Regions from separate parts of the Homo sapiens genome. Here all the other regions are linked to region 1. The links are contacts of gene promoters, found by promoter capture Hi-C in blood cells and fetal thymus (Javierre and others, 2016). All regions are on one chromosome and are shown on one strand. Each heading gives the region's core, a stretch centred on a gene start or on the middle of the fragment in contact. The rest is flanking DNA. Distances are from core to core; before and after follow the strand shown. Region 1 holds the start of ZXDA (zinc finger X-linked duplicated A). Region 2 overlaps PFKFB1 (6-phosphofructo-2-kinase/fructose-2,6-biphosphatase 1). Region 3 holds the start of RRAGB (Ras related GTP binding B).

Region 1 (3,676 bases), core at 769-3,268:
CTGCTGGTGGGATTGACAACTCTCCCAATCACTACAGAGAACAATTTGGCATCATCTAGTAAAGCTGAGGATATCCATTCCCTATGGCCCTGTGATTCTATTCTTGGATATATACCCTAGAGAGATTTTTACACGTGTCCCATTAGAAATGTGCAAGAATGTTCACAATAATCATTGAAAAGTAGAAGCAATCCTAATCTCCATCTGCTGTAGAATGGAGTGGAATAATCATACAATAATCACTTTGCTATAAGCATATGCTGGAAAGACAGTCGATGGAGACAAAGGATCTACTTACTTATAGCTATTATGAACAACATGGACGAGTCTCTCAAGTATAATACAGAGTGAAAAAAGCAAGCTATAAAAGGAAGCATGCCGTATGATTCCACTTATACAACTTCATATCAACTCTATTGTTTAGGGATGCGTACAAAAGTGATAAAGCTATAAAGGAAAGCAGTGAAATGATTATTACAAAGTCGGAGCAATTACTATATCTATATAGGAGAGTGTGGTTTGTGACTGGAAGGAGTACAGCAGCTGTATTCTGGGAGGTTGGCAGTGGTCTATTGCTTGACCTTGGTCCTGGTTAAGTAGGTGTCTGCTTTTGTAAAATAATCTAAACTATACAGATACGTTATATGCACTCTTCTAATTTCAGATTTGAAAAGTGCTTCCTCCAGAAAAAGTAATAGAAAGAAAAGTATGTGGAGTAGAAATTTTGATGAGGTTCGAATAGTTATGGTTGAAAAACTTGATTTTCAAGAGACCAAGTGTCCACTGTTATTAAAAGAGGGCGAGAGAGCTGGGAGTATTTAAACAACAGGTTACACCCCCCCACCCCCACCACCACCAATCTGTTCATCACTCTAAGCCTTCTCATCTCAGATATTTCACCCTATATTTGTGTCAATTCCAAACTCATTCGTGACAGACAAATTGGAGGATTGTCGTCATCATTAATAAGGACATTAGGCACCAAAGGCCCAGCAAGACTGGGCCACCACACTTAAATGTGAGCAGGTACACCGGGGCGAGTGGACAAGATCGTCTGTGCACATTACTTGGCAGAGTCCATTGAGTGACTGAGGGTTTAACCTTAACACATTTAACTGGAACTCCTGCCCAGAGAATGTGCTGGAGAATGCAGAATAAACTGAGCAATGCCCTCATTGTGCTATGAGAGTGGACATGAAGTTTATCATGGTACAACCGATCGTCGAAGGGCAAAGAGTTGGTTTAGGTTGTGCACTGTATAGGGAGAAGCCAGGGGCGGGTTGGGTTTTTTTCCAGATTTCAGTATAAATTGTTTCATCCTCCAGACTTTGCATTTGTAGGCTGAAGAGTGCTAATCTGTTTTGGCCGCATCTCTCACTCATTCTAATCTCTGTTATCAGCAGACAAAAATTGAACTATGTGGCAAATTGTACCGAGCACTTTGCTCAAGACAATTGTGAGTATGGAAGTTGTCCCGCGCAGAGGTGGGAAGGGGAAGGGCAATTTCCGCAGAAATGCCAGCACTATGGTGGTTTAATGCTGACACAGAGACAGTTTTTTCTCTCAGGAATTGTCTTTCATCCATCAATCCAGCCAGGTAGCCAGCCAATAAACAAATTTTAACACACAAAAAGTATGAAGCAACATGTCTAACACTGGGAGGGGCTGGCGTGTGTTTATTTGGGTATATACAATGAGTCACGGATTAAAATTGCTTTTACCAGATAGATACCTAGGTGTTCCACAGCATTATTGAACAAGATGTCGTCATTTCCCCATTACTTCAGAAGACCTCCTTAATTACTTATATTAATTGTAGAATATATTTATGCATACCAGGCTCTACCTCTGGGCTTTCTATTCCGTTCCAGAGACCCAGTACCAGAATATTTAAATCACTGTGGCGTTGAATACATTTTAATATCTGATAGGGCCAGTTTCTGCGCATTGCACATTTTTTTTTCCCCTTTCAGGAACGTGTTCAGGCCCGCGGCAGGGGGCGGGATCGCGCCTCCTCCTCGGCTCTGGTTCCAGCCGAGCCTCTCGGACGCAGAGATGGAAATCCCGAAGCTGCTCCCGGCTCGCGGGACACTACAGGGCGGCGGCGGCGGCGGTATCCCCGCGGGTGGCGGCCGAGTCCACCGAGGCCCTGACTCGCCGGCTGGCCAGGTCCCCACGCGCCGCCTCCTGCTGCCCCGGGGCCCCCAAGATGGCGGGCCCGGGCGGCGGCGCGAGGAGGCCAGCACGGCATCACGGGGCCCTGGCCCAAGCCTGTTCGCGCCGAGGCCCCATCAACCTAGCGGCGGCGGCGACGACTTCTTCCTGGTGCTGCTTGACCCGGTGGGTGGCGACGTGGAGACCGCGGGCTCCGGTCAGGCCGCAGGGCCTGTGTTGAGGGAGGAGGCCAAGGCGGGCCCGGGGCTCCAGGGGGACGAGAGCGGCGCGAACCCCGCGGGCTGCTCTGCGCAGGGCCCCCACTGCCTGTCCGCGGTTCCCACTCCGGCCCCGATCTCCGCCCCCGGCCCCGCCGCGGCCTTCGCGGGCACAGTCACTATCCACAACCAGGACCTGCTGTTGCGCTTTGAGAACGGCGTCCTCACCCTGGCCACGCCCCCACCACACGCCTGGGAGCCAGGGGCCGCTCCTGCCCAGCAGCCCAGGTGTCTGATCGCCCCCCAAGCTGGGTTCCCGCAAGCCGCGCACCCGGGTGACTGCCCAGAGCTGCGGTCCGACCTCCTGCTAGCCGAGCCCGCAGAACCCGCGCCTGCTCCGGCGCCCCAGGAGGAGGCGGAGGGCCTGGCCGCCGCCCTGGGCCCCCGCGGACTGCTGGGCTCTGGTCCAGGCGTGGTGCTGTACCTGTGCCCCGAGGCGCTGTGCGGGCAAACCTTCGCCAAGAAGCACCAGCTGAAGATGCACCTGCTGACGCACAGCAGCAGCCAGGGCCAGAGGCCCTTCAAATGCCCCCTGGGTGGCTGCGGCTGGACCTTCACCACCTCTTACAAGCTCAAGAGGCACCTGCAGTCGCACGATAAACTGCGGCCCTTCGGCTGCCCTGCGGAGGGCTGTGGCAAGAGCTTCACCACCGTGTACAACCTCAAGGCGCACATGAAGGGCCATGAGCAGGAGAACTCGTTCAAATGTGAGGTGTGCGAGGAGAGCTTCCCCACGCAGGCCAAACTCGGCGCCCACCAGCGCAGCCACTTCGAACCCGAGAGGCCTTACCAGTGCGCGTTTTCTGGCTGCAAGAAGACATTTATCACAGTGAGTGCTCTGTTTTCCCATAACCGCGCCCATTTCAGGGAACAGGAACTGTTTTCCTGCTCTTTCCCTGGCTGCAGCAAGCAATATGACAAGGCTTGTAGGCTGAAAATTCACCTGCGGAGTCACACCGGCGAGAGACCTTTCCTTTGTGACTTTGATGGCTGTGGCTGGAACTTCACCAGCATGTCCAAACTCTTAAGGCACAAAAGGAAGCACGACGATGACCGGAGGTTCATGTGCCCTGTGGAAGGCTGTGGGAAATCTTTCACGAGGGCCGAACATCTGAAAGGCCACAGCATTACCCACCTGGGCACAAAGCCTTTCGTGTGTCCTGTGGCAGGCTGCTGTGCCAGGTTCTCTGCTCGCAGTAGCCTCTACATTCACTCCAAGAAACACCTGCAGGATGTGGACACTT
Region 2 (3,676 bases), core at 485-2,984, 2.9 Mb after region 1:
AATCTTGCAGTCCTGGGATAAATAAAAACTTCTGAATTTCTTTCACTAATTTTTTGTTTAGGATTTTAGCATTTTGCTCAGGAAAGAGATTGGCCTGTGATTTTTCCAAGAGTGTCAAGATTACACTAACCTCATAAAATCAGGTGGGAACTATTTCCTTTCATTCTGTCCTCTGACAGAGGTTGTCTGCAGAACTAGCCATTCCTCAAATATTTTACCTGGCAGCATTTCCAGGTAAAATATCTGGACCTGGTGTCTCCTTTAACATTTTAACTGATACAATCTCTTTTATCAGTTATAGAGTCCTTTCAGTTTGCTATTTCCACTAAAGTTAGCTTTCTTAAGCTTTCCTAAGTTATGGTTTTCTATGAATTTTTCTACTTCACATAGTTTTCAAATTTATTTTGTGTAAAGTTCTTATCTTTGTATCTTTTTTATCTCTGTTGCATTTGTAGTTATAGCTTCTCTTTCATTATAATATTATTTATTTGCACCTTTTTTCTCTTGATCAATCTTGCTATAAGTTTGACACTTTTATAATTCTAAAATAATCAACTTTTGACTTTTTGATCCTTTTTTATCTTTATTTTCTATTTAACTATTTTTTCATCATTATTCTGTTTCTCCTACTTTCTTTGGATTTATTCTGTTGTTCTTTTTTAACTCATAGAGTTGCCTGCTGCTCAGCTCATTCATTTTCAGACTTTCTTCTTTTCTAATTTAAGTGTCCAATGAGATAATTGGCCTACTAAACAGGGCTGATATTCCACAGATTCACAATCGTATGGCCATATGAATTTTCAGAATATTTCTAGTCCATTTTATAAATAGGCACTCTCCCAGGCTTTTTTAGTCTCTCCAACACTTACCCAGTTACCCTGGCCACCTCAATTCCTTTCCCAGGATAGCCAGGACCTACTGATTATCATCTAGCAACTAAAGGATTAATGCCTACCACAGCAGGAGGCCTCCAGTACTTGGTGCCAGCCCTTGGACCAGCTTCTGTTTTGATAGATCAGTGCTCTTGTCATTTCTATTTTAATTCCATTCTGGTCAGAGAACAAACTTTGTATTATTTCAGTTCTTTGAAATCTGTTGAGACTTGCTTTATGGACCAACTTATGGACAATCTGGTAAATGTTCCAAGAGCACTTGAAAAGAATGTGCGTTTTACAGTTGTGTTTAGTGTACTATATACCTCGATTAAGTTGTGTTTGTTAATCTGGCTCAAATGTTCTATATTCTTCTGGGGTTTTGGCTGCCTGTTGATATGGAAAATTTGTTAATGTTTCCTTGTAATTCTGTCAATCTTGAAAGTTCGTAGTTACAAACAAATTTAGAATTGCTATATCTTCCTTGTGAATTGAATATTTTATCACCATGTAAGGAAATTATTAACTCTGGTAATACCTGGTAATTTGGTATCATTGATGTTTTTGCCCTATAATCAATCTTTTTTCTCATATTAATATACCTACATTAGCTTTATTTAGCTTAATATTTGCCTGGTATGTGTTTTCCTACATTTAAAAAATTGTTTTTGATAGAGATATAATTCACATACCATAAAATTCACCATTTTGAAGTATACAGTGGTTTTGAGTATATTCACATAGTTGTGTAACCATCACCACTAATTCCAGGACATTTTCTTTATGCCAAAAAGGAATTCCATACTCTAGACTCACTCCAGATGACCCTCTCCCCTTAGCCCCTGGCAACCACTAATCTACTTTCAGTCTCAATGAATTTGCCTATTCTGGACATTTTATATAAGGGGAATCATACAATATGTGGCCTTTTGTATCTGGCTCGTTTCTTTGGGCATGTTTTCAAGGTTAATCCATGTTGTAGCATGCAAAGTCACAAAGATATATGCCTAGGCTTTTTTCTAAGAGTTTTATAGTCTTGGCTCTTACATTTAGGTTTTTCAATTTATTCTGAGTTAATATTTGCATGTGGTGTGAGATGGGAATCCAGCTTCGTTCTTTTGCATGTGGCTATCCAGTTGTCCTAGCAGCATTTTTTGAAAAGACTCTTCTTTCCCCTACTTAATTGTCTTGGCACCCTTGATGAAAATCAGGTGACTATAAGTTGAAGGGTTTACTTCTGGGCTCTCAGTTCTATTCCATTTGTTTATATGTATCTCTACCCTTATACCAGTACCACACATTCTTGATTATTGTAGTTTAATTGTAATTTTGAAATTGGGAAGTATGTCTTCTAATTTTGGTCTTTTTCAGATTGTTTTTATGATTGTTTTGGCTATTCTAGGTCCTTTGCATTTCCATATAAATTTTAAGACCAATTTATTAATTTCTGCAAAGAATTAAGCTGAAACTTTGACAGAAGCTGCATTTAATCTATAGATTAGTTAGGGAATATTACCATCTTAACAATAATAAGTTTTAGGTCCCTGAACATGAGATGTTGTTGCATTTACTTAGGTCTTTAATTATATTCACCAATGTTTTGCAGTTTTCAGAGTGTTTTACATTTTTTAAAGTGTTCTTTTAAGCATTTTATTGTTTTGATGCTATTGTAAATAAAATTGTTTTACTTAATTTCATTTTGTTTGCTCATGGCTACTTTATAGAAATGTAATTGATTTTTATATATTGATCTTATATTCTGCAACATTGCTGGACTCATTTATTAGGTCCAATGGTGTTTTTTAGTGCATTCCTTGGGATTTTCTATATACAAGATTATGTTATCTGCAAATAGAAATAATTTCATCTCTTCCTTTCCAATCCAGATGCCTTTTATTTTCTTTTTCTTACCTAATTACCTTGGCTATAACCTCTACTAGAATGTTGAAAAGATGAGATGAAAACAGACATCCTTCTGTTGTTACTGATCTTGGCAGGCGGCATGGGAGAAACTATTCAATCTTTCACCATTAAGTGTGATATTCACTGTGGGTTTTTCATTGGTGTCTTTTATTAGGTTTAGGGCCTTTCCTTCTAGTTTTAATTTGTTGTTGGTTTTATCATGAAGGGGTATTTAATTTCCCAAATGCTTTATCTGTGCCTATTATGATGATCATTTGGTTTTTTTGTCCTTAATTCTATTGATGTGATCTGTTGCATTAATTGATTTTCAAAGGTTAAATCAAGCTTGCATTCCTATAATAAATCTAACTTGATTGTGATGTAAAAAGTATAAGTATAATATATACATATATATAATGTATACATATAAATCCTTTTATACATTCCTGGGTTCAGTTTGCTAGTGTTTTGTGGGGATTTTTACATCCATATTCACAACAGCTATTGGTCTATAATTTTCTTTTCTTCTAATATATGTGCCTAACTTTGGTAGCACGGAAATACTGGCCTCATAGAATGAGTTGGGAAGTGCTTCTTCCTCTTCTACTTTTTGAAAGAGCTTTTGAAGAATCGTATTATTCTTTAAATGTTTGTAGAATTCACCAGTGAAACCATCTAATCCTGGACTTTTCTTTCTGGCAAGGTTTTTCATTACTTATTCAACCCCTTGTTATAGATCTATTTAGATTTCATTTCTTTTTTAGTCAGTTTTGAGAGTTTGTATCATTCTAATAATTTATCTATTTCACCTAAGGCATTTATTGTGTTGGCATACAGTTTATGATTGTTCATAATATTCCCTTATAATTCTTTTTATTTTCATAAAGTCAGTAGTAATGTCT
Region 3 (3,676 bases), core at 878-3,377, 2.2 Mb after region 1:
CAATTCTGCCTAAACCCCAACGTAGGGCACAGTACTATGAGAGCACAAAGGAAGGTGTGTCCAATTCTATCTGAAGAACTCAATAAGACCTTATAGTGGTAACACTTGAGTTAGGTTAAAAATAAATGTGCAGACAGAGGCCTGTATGGTGTGTGTATATGGCTTACACAAAGTGCAAATTAATTTGTAAATCTGGAGAACAATAAATTCTGTAGGGCTGTGATAGGGTGCATAAGTGTGGCACAGGGTTTGGTCAGGAACAGATTTTAAAGGGCCATGAAATCATTTGGATTTTATTCCATGGGCTTAAAGAAGTTACTAAAGGTTCTTAAGTATGTAGATGACTCAGTCGGATTTTCATATTAGAAAAATTAAATCTGATAGCATACAAGGAGAAGAGAGTCAGACAGACCACACAGAAGGCTCCTGCAATAGTCCAGAAAAGATGGTGTATATATGTCACAAAGTTCCTGAATATCAACTTCTTACCTTTACCTTCATGGTTTTGACGTATCTAACACGTCTTACCTTTTTCTTCATGGCTGTATTTGGTAGCACCCACCTGCAGATATAAACCAAAAAACAGTTTCCATGATCCAATTCCCTTAGAAATTGAAATTAATGAAGTATAAATAAACATGGAGGTACAAAAGAGCATGTTTAGTACAACGGCTGAGTACAGCTGTGTGTGTGGGACCTCAGATGAATAGAGGTCCCATTTTCCTAAATTATAAAACTGTGTGTATACTCTCTATCTCCTAATTAGAAGTTCAAGAGAGAACTCCTAGGAAGATTTATTTAGGAATACAAATGAGCCATTAAAATTCAAGATTCAATTTTTCATCATCTTAATCAAAGCAACACAGCTGCTTTAATCAAACAATATCTTCTATTTCTAAAAAAACAGAATATATTGATATCCTCTACTTGAGGACTGAGTATTGAATATCTTCTATGTATAAAAAACATTCAGCCTCCTAATTTTAAAATCTGGAAGTATCTTTTTAGTCCTTCAGCTGTCCTTCCAAGCCCTATTTCACTCATCACAGACACAAAGTAGATGTAAGTCTCAAATTCAGGTACAAATTGGCACAGAAAACACCCTCAAGCTCTGACCTGGAAATGCAAATCTTCTTTCTAGTCTTTCCATCCCCAACCTGGTGACAGCAAATCTCCTTTACTGATAATTCAAAGCAACTCATAACTGCTTTAATTAGAACACTCCCCCAGCACCACCACCAGGAATATCAGCCCCTTCCCAAGGGTTGTTTCTGATCAGTTAGCACCAATTCGCTTTCCAGTTTATCCTGTCGTCCAAAGCATAATCCCAATCAACATTACTGGTAAATCAAAGCAATTTATCATGGTGCGGGGTGGGGAGAAGTGTTCTAATTCACAATACTCTCTTCAATTTGAACACCCCCACTTCCAGGTTTCACAAATACCCTTCACCCACCCAAGCGATCCTTCCGGTTCCCCTAGTGGTGGATCCATTCTCGGCCCCAGATTTTCTTTCTCCGTCGTTTTCTCAGAGTCAGATTCTTCCATTGCGCAACAAGTCCTTTCCAGTCCCTTCTAAATCTTCAGTACTCTTCAGGGTTTGTTGTTGTTGTTTGTTTGTTTTCTTTTTCACCCCTCAACTGCCTATTCTCATCGCCTATGGCCCTCAGGCCTGCTCTATTCTTGCCTCCGCCTTTGTCCACTGGGGGGCCGCTTTCCCCACGGTTACCTTTATCTCTCGAACCTGGCCTCAAGGCACGGCCGAGCTGGCTAGCTTTAAGGCCAAGTGATTCCGTGGTACAAAGTAAGAGTTGGAGAATGACAGGAAAAGAGAGGTGGGTTAGGGGTTCGTCCCGAGTTTGGGCCTCAGGCCCCCAAGGTCTGGAAACCCAAAGGTAACTTCACCCGCAAAGAGGTGAGGACCGCGAAGGCGGAGGTGGCAGAAAGAGCTGACCCATGCCGTAGGCACTAAGCGGAGAACGCCTCAGCTGGCTCGTGGCTTCCGAGCCCGGCCGCTCGGAGAGTCAGCCGGCGGGGGCAGTAGTTACGACCTAACCACCCGCCCTTCAGGAACCCAGGTATCTCACCGCAGCCACCCAACTGCAGGCCAGGATCACGTGGGCATCTGCCTTACCCCGGAGTCTGTCACGTGACTGCCGCTACCAAAGGGACGGGTGGGCTGGGAAGAATACCATAGAGACAGCTCCAGGAAAGCCAGAGTGCCGTCTGTCATCATCACGTGGCCTTGGCTCAGGCTCCGCCCCTCGGGCGGGGTAGGGCGCTGGGAGCCTTCAGCCTCTCTAATGTGGGTGGGCCTGGCCCCACCCATCCGCTATGGAGAATTAAAGGAGCCGGTTGCAATTTCAGTGCCTCTGAGCTTCTCTTTTTTACTGCTGGTTACCGGTAATGGTTTTTGACTGGGAAGACCGAGCATTGTCTTTGCCTTCCTGCTTTTTATTGTTAATTCTTGCAATCGAGTTTGTAATTAAATGATTAATACATCCAAAGCGCTTAGAACTGTGTCTTCCACATAGCAAATACTGTATAAATTATCGTTATTGCTGAAACCAGGGATTCATCAGGAATTTTAACACACACATTCATCTTCCCACTTGTTTAAAACAGGAAGTGAAGGAAGTACCATAGTAAGAAGTCAATAAATAAAGTCTAGGGCTGGGAGTGGTGGGTCATGCCTTTAATCCCAGCACTTTGGGAGGCTGGGGAGGGAGGATCACTTGAGGCCAGGAGTTCAAGACCAACCTGGCCAACATAGCGAGACCCCATCTGTAAATAAGTGAAGTCTAGAATTGAGAACAGAAAGACTACTGGTAGGGATATGCACACCAGGAAAAATGCCCAGAGGGGTTCAAAGATGTTCCTTCTGGAGAATGGGGTAGGGGATAGGACGTGATATGTCAGGGGACTATTATTTTTTATCTGAAGCCCTTCTGTGCTATATATATTTCTATAATGTATAAATGATATATAATAATAAGATTAATATGACATTTAATTATATTTAATATAATCAACTAATACTTAAATAATATGTTATAAATATGTTATTTTAAATAAATGTGTAGTTTAATTATATTATTTATAATTAATATATGATATACTACATGTATTATTTACACGTAAGTGTGTACATATATTACTTTGATAAGAAAAAAAGGGAAGGAAGGAAGAGAAACTGCAGGAAACAGAGTACTATTATTGAAACTGCCTTTGCAAAAACTGTAACTGAGGAAATTATGACAGTGAAAGAGATCAGACCTCACCGACTCCATCTTACATCTAACCTTTAAGGTGTCCTTGTTCATTCCTGGGCGTAGGCCGAACTAACCTTGGGAAGGAATTTAGTTTATAGTTTAACTCTGATACAAAATTGATAATAGCCCTTTCTCCCTCCCGCTGCCCCCCACTAAAAAAAAACAAAAAAACAAAAAAACCTTCTTACCTGGGAACCAGTCGGCCTTTGCAGGACTAACAAATTAGCCACAAGATTACAAGATTAGAAATTACAATTCAGGGGCCATGCAGCCTCCAGCTGCAAGAGTCTGAACCTCCCCAAATTGCTCCCAGGAATAACATCACTGTTTTAAAACCTAAGATCACTGTTTGATATGTTTTGCAGACCCTGCATTCAGATGCACCAGCTTATGATACAGGAGCG

The links. Contacts are between HindIII fragments. The CHiCAGO score rates a contact against its expected background, and 5 or more counts as called.
Region 2: a fragment that was not itself captured here is called in contact with the fragment with the promoter of ZXDA in region 1 in 1 of 17 cell types (M2 macrophages); the score reaches 5.2 in M2 macrophages.
Region 3: a contact is called between the fragment with the promoter of RRAGB here and the fragment with the promoter of ZXDA in region 1, in 1 of 17 cell types (activated CD4 T cells). The highest score is 6.1, in activated CD4 T cells.

Annotation. Positions count from the first base shown.
Region 1 is chrX:57,908,800-57,912,475 of GRCh38, reverse strand. It overlaps ZXDA (zinc finger X-linked duplicated A), which reads left to right and starts at 2,018. Exons shown (of 1, transcript NM_007156.5): 1 at 2,018-3,676. The coding sequence starts at 2,056. RefSeq lists a silencer at 2,591-2,850. The HindIII fragment of the contact is 7,022 bases long and covers 1-3,676 here.
Region 2 is chrX:54,987,106-54,990,781 of GRCh38, reverse strand. The region is part of intron 1 of PFKFB1 (6-phosphofructo-2-kinase/fructose-2,6-biphosphatase 1); the gene reads left to right. Among named protein-coding and RNA genes, the nearest start is that of PFKFB1, 5.2 kb to the left of the region's middle. The HindIII fragment of the contact is 2,774 bases long and covers 348-3,121 here.
Region 3 is chrX:55,716,200-55,719,875 of GRCh38, reverse strand. It overlaps RRAGB (Ras related GTP binding B), which reads right to left and starts at 2,127. Exons shown (of 10, transcript NM_006064.5): 1 at 1,457-2,127; 2 at 529-562. The coding sequence starts at 1,548. RefSeq lists enhancers at 1,509-1,638, 1,799-1,998. The HindIII fragment of the contact is 6,209 bases long and covers 1-3,676 here.